2 separate regions of the Homo sapiens genome follow, and region 2 is linked to region 1. Evidence: promoter capture Hi-C in 16 types of primary human blood cells and fetal thymus (Javierre and others, 2016). All regions are on one chromosome and are shown on one strand. Each heading gives the region's core, a stretch centred on a gene start or on the middle of the fragment in contact. The rest is flanking DNA. Distances are from core to core; before and after follow the strand shown. Region 1 holds the start of ARL14EPL (ARF like GTPase 14 effector protein like). Region 2 overlaps LOC105379129 (a long non-coding RNA gene).

Region 1 (2,727 bases), core at 77-2,576:
GAAATGACAAACTACATTGTTACTCTTGTTATACTTCTAACAAAACTGCATAACATGAATCTAATAATGAAGAAAAAACAAACTGAGGGACATGTCACAAAAATAATATCCAAGTCTCAAGGTCATGAAAGTCAAGGAAAGACAGAGGATCTGTTCTAGACTGAAGGAGCTTAGAGACATGACAACTGAATGTAGTGTGTGGTCCTGAACTGGTTCCTTTCGCCATAAAAGACTAACATTACTGGGACAATTGGCAAAACTTGGGTGGAGTCTGAAGATTAGATGCTATCATTGTTAATTTCTCAACTTTGATGGCTTGTTGTATTTATGTAGAAAATATTTTGGTTGTAAGAAATATACATGAAGGAGTGAAGCAGTAACCTATTGATTCAGGAAAAAAAATATTTTTATAGTAACTCCAGCTTTTCTGTAAGTTTCTGAATAAATTAAACTTAAGATAAATAAAGTTTATCATCTATTTGTTACTGGAACTGCAATGCACTTTCATTTCAAGTCACTTTTTTCTTTCAAATTTGGTAATGGCCACAGCCACAATCCTGAAGTTATCTACTAAGCATTTTAATAATTATGCCCAAGTTGGAAATTCAAGTTGTCCGAAAAGACTTAATTTCTTGTTTCAGTCAACGCTTCCCATCTTCAACCAGAGGAACTAAAAACTAAAAATTTTAAAATGTGTTACTCTAAATTAACAAAGCTATATAAATGAAAAATAAATGTAAGTCATTACACTTTTAAATAAAACTTGTTTGAAACTTTTATATAAAAGTCTGTAGTGTTTATACTTCTAAAAATATTAAATCTTACAATTTCACTAAGCCTTTTGGGAAGACTTTTACATATACATGGGTGAATCATGTAACTTGAAATTATTATGCTAACAACTTGACTTAGTCCATGTTACAGTTATAGCTAATAATATTTTACCATTTTGTATAATCAGTACACGTCTAGATGTATAGTAAAGTAGTCTTCCCTTAGCTGCAGTTTCATTTTCCACAGTTTCAGTTACTCGGGGTCAACTATAGTTCAAAAATATTACATCACTACCCTGTGTTTTGGGGCCACTATTAAGTACAATAAGGGTCACTTGAACACAAGCACTGCAATACTGCAACAGTTGCTCTAATCGCCAAGGTGACTACGTGGTGACTCATTGCCATCCAGTGGGCCGAAGCAGGAGGGCAAGAGATTTCATCGCACCACTCAGAACAGTGCACAGTTTGAAACTTAAGAGTTGTTTATTTCTGGAATTTTCCATCTACGTCACAATACCTGTGTTATTGCCCTCACTTCATCCCATCACGTAGCCATTTGACCATTTTACATCATCATAAGAAGCGTGAGTACAGTACAATAAGATATTTTGAAAGAGAAAGATACCATATTTGCATATTTTTAATTACAATGTATTGTTATAATTGTTCTATTTTATTGTTAGTTACTGTTGTTAATTTCTTACTGTGCCTAATTTATAAATTAACTTTATCTTAAGTACATATGTACAGGAAAAACCGTAGTGTATATAGAGTAGGATACTATCCATGGTTTCAGGCATCCACTGGGGACCTTGGAAGGTAGCATATAATTCCTGATACATAGCTGTGTATTCTGAGTTTTTTGTTGTGGTGGTTTTTGTTTTTGTTTTTTTGAAACAGGGTGTCAGTCTGTCAATGCAGGCTGGAGTGCAGTGCTGCCATCTCCGCTCGCCGCAGCCTCGACTTCCTGGGCTCAGGTGATTCTCCCACCTCAGCCTCCTGAGTAGCTGGGACTACAGGTGTGCACCACCATGCCTGGACAATTTTTTGTATTTTTAGTTGAGATGGGGTTTCACCATGTTGCCTGGGCTGGTCTTGAGCTCCTGGGCTCAAGTGATCCACCTGCCTCAGCCTGCCAAAGTGCTGGGATTCCAGGTGTGAGCCCCCACACCCGGCCTATAGCTATGTATTCTTAATTGTTACACTCTAGTAGAAGTGAAATAACAACTCTCTGCTAGGTACATATTACCACCTCCTTTTACTACAGGAAATCCCCGACTTACCGTGGTTTGAGTTACTATTTTCATACTTTCCAGTGGTGCAAAAGTGATACAAATTCAATAGTAACCATACTTTGAGTACCTACAGAGCTATTCTATTTTTTTCACTTTTAGTGTAGTATTCCATTAATTACATGAGATTTTCAACATTTTATTATAAAATAGGCTTTGTGTTAGATGATGTTGCCCAACTGGAGGCTAATGTAAGTGTTCTCAGAACATTTGAGGTAGACTATGCTAAGCTATGATGTTTGGTGCATTAAATGCATTTTCAACTTACTATAGGCTTATGGGGACATAACTTCATCATAAATTAAGATCACCTGTAATTTTTTCACTGAAGAAAATCTAACTAGATGAATAAAATTATCTTGATTTGGGTGGTACAACATGACTTCAAAATTCTAAATGGAATTTAGAGGCACAGAATGAAAAAATGAAAAATACAGGTAGATATTATCTACTCTATTTTAAAAATGTAGATCCTTGGATCAAGATTTTCAAAATAATAAGTTGCAGGCTTTTTAGTACAAACTCTTTCTACCCAAGCTATATTCTTAAAAGTATATTATAACTTATTTTGTTTGCTAAAAAGTTTGTTTCGTGAAAAAAAGGCTGTGTGTGTATTTAAAATAGAGTATATGTTTGTGGGAATAGTGTGTATGTGAACA
Region 2 (2,700 bases), core at 160-2,659, 720 kb before region 1:
TTGTTCCATTTACTATTGCATATCTATGCCTGAGGCAGCCCATCTTAGACATCAATTTGAATTTTTTAGATGGATCCATGAAAAAATAAATGAGTATGTATTTTCTAAACTAAAAATTAGGACATATTTGGACAAGTATTTGGAATGAGGGTCAGCTTCAGATATATGGGACAGATAACTTCTAAATATGAGAACAGTTAAATGTCATTTCTTAATAACTATTTTTGTTCCATTGGTGAAGTGAGATGGAGATGACAAAAACACTGGTCATCTAAGGCAAGTCCTAGGTATATACATTTCGCTTATTTTTTTTTCAATAGTAATTTTTTTTTATTATCCTCACTCACTCAGGAATCAACCAAAAACATGACATTGAGCCATCTTTCCTAGGGAAATTACAGGATTTTTCAATTGGGATGGCTCAATGTAGTTATTGACTGTATCTCACAGGTGGGTGGAAGGATGAAGCACTCTTCAATCCAGGGAAGGGCTTGGATAGATTTTTTATTTTATTTTATTTTATTTTATTTATTCATTTATTTATTTATTTATTTATTTATTTATTTATTTATTTATTTATTTTGAGATGGAGTCTTGCTCTGTTGCCCAGGCTGGCGTGCAGTGATGTGATCTTGGCTCATTGCAAGCTCCACCATTCTCCTGCCTCAGCCTCCCCAGTAGCTGGGACCACAGGTGCCTGCCACCAAACCCGGCTAATTTTTTGTATTTTTTTTAGTACAGACGGGGTTTCACCATCTTAGTCAGGATGGCCTCGATCTCCTGTCTTCGTGATCCACCCGCCTTGGCCTCCCAAAGTGCTGGGACTACAGGCGTGAGCCACCGCGCCCGGCTGGATAGATTTTTTTTTTTAGCCACTGCCACAACATGGCACAGGGACCCTGACTGGTGTAATTCAGTTATTCCATAAACATTATTTATTCATTCAAACAGCTTTTAATTAGACGATCATTATGTGCCAGTTACAGTGCTTGCTGCTAGGGCTACAAAGCCAAATGAGGCATGGTCGTTGCTCTCAAGCAGCTATCTTGTCAGGGAAGACAGGTCAATAGACCAATAGCTGAAGTCCAGTTTGGCTCAAATAAATACAATGCACAGGGTATTATAGGAATATGCAGTTTGGTATAAATTAGAGTAGTGGGAAGGGGTCTTCAGCAGGGCTTCCTTAAAGAAGTGACACCCAAGCTTAGTTTTCAAGGACCAGACGCAGTTAGCTGTATTAATTCCACTATTAGCAGTAGTAATAGTGGAAAGGAAGACAGCTTCTTAGGAGAGAAAACCTGAGATAGAGAGCACGGAGAAATGATATACAATAGTTTGTTTAGGGAACTAGAAGAAATTCAGCATGGCTATAACAAAGCATGATGCCATTTGATGTAGCAGCGAGGAGACTCTCACTGAATTTGAGAGAGCTGACCGGTTCATTCATCTACTCCTCACTCTCACAACCTGAGCCCCAATGAATAATTCTTTCTTTGCACACAAGACAAAACTAGAGATAGTAGAAAAGAAATTTTTAGTATGAACGACAGTTATGGCAAATGCAGTCTTACAAATTGGCATGAGCTTCTATTACTAGTTTTCTAGGAAAAATAATTGAAGCTTGTCATAGAGACCAGGCAAAGGCTCTAATAAGAATACTTTGCATCTGCAGTGAGATGCTTTTGCACCCGTAGAAACCAGAGCCTAAAGGAAAGGCTTATGTGCTGCTATCTGTTTTGGGAGTTACATTCCCAGGGAAACAGAAGTGAGGGAAAAGGGGCAAACATGAGGGAAGTTTGAGTCAGCCTCTTGTTGGCAACAAGTATAGTTCATGTTGCATCTCATGGGATGTGCTCAGTAAGGCCAAATGAACTTTACATATCAAGGCAGCCCACCAGGGGAGAGGAAGGGAAAACAATTTATCTGCCAGTCCATTTCATTCTACATATGCCCCTGGTCAAGAGTCTGCCCATGGGCATTAACTCCCCGGGAAGATGTGACCCGGGCTTTCCAGGTCCCCAGGGGAAGCTAAGGTTATACTACTTGAAGTGGGCATTGCCACTCATTACCTTTGAGCCCATTTTATATTTGGAGAGTTTCCTGATTTCTGAGAGTTCGTTCTTCAAAGATGAAGTCAGAAACTCTCCTGACATCTTCAATTTGAGGATCTAGTGTCCAGGTTCTGCCAATTAGACCCATCTTATTGAGACCTCCATGCTGGAGTGAGTGAGGCATCTCACAGAATCCATCATGGCAGATAGAGGGAGAGGCTCTACCTTCCAGAGATGTTGCCAGAGGTTCTAGGCAGAGTTTCCAGTGTCCGCCACTCGGGGCAAAAGCTGGGTTGTCTGTGCCCAGGCACAGCAGCAATAGAGTGCCCCCTGGAACCATCTGTGTAACTTTCATATGGCTCCCAGCCTCAGAGCAGCCATGGTTTATTCTGTAGCCCTCACTGAGATTCCAAGAACTGCTTAAAATCTTTAATACAATTCCTTTTGCTGCCTAAACTACCTAGGGGGAGTTTCATTGTCTGAAATCAAGAACTCTGAAAGATTCATGTAGCCTAAAAATAAATTTTGGGTTGCCTTCAAGTTATGACATGCTTCTAATCCTAAATCTGCTTGCTTATGTGAAACAGATTCCATTAATTTTTATACTATATCCTAGAACCATAGAATTCTTGAATTTAGATGTAGAAGT

The links. The method cuts DNA at HindIII sites, captures the fragments that hold promoters and counts their contacts. A CHiCAGO score of 5 or more calls a contact.
Region 2: a contact is called between a fragment that was not itself captured here and the fragment with the promoter of ARL14EPL in region 1, in 2 of 17 cell types (monocytes and total B cells). The highest score is 6.9, in monocytes.

Annotation. Positions count from the first base shown.
Region 1 is chr5:116,031,146-116,033,872 of GRCh38, forward strand. It overlaps ARL14EPL (ARF like GTPase 14 effector protein like), which reads left to right and starts at 1,327. Exons shown (of 4, transcript NM_001195581.2): 1 at 1,327-1,360. RefSeq lists an enhancer at 922-971. The HindIII fragment of the contact is 15,754 bases long and covers 1-2,727 here.
Region 2 is chr5:115,310,918-115,313,617 of GRCh38, forward strand. The region is part of intron 1 of LOC105379129 (a long non-coding RNA gene); the gene reads left to right. Among named protein-coding and RNA genes, the nearest start is that of CCDC112, 16 kb to the left of the region's middle. The HindIII fragment of the contact is 417 bases long and covers 1,202-1,618 here.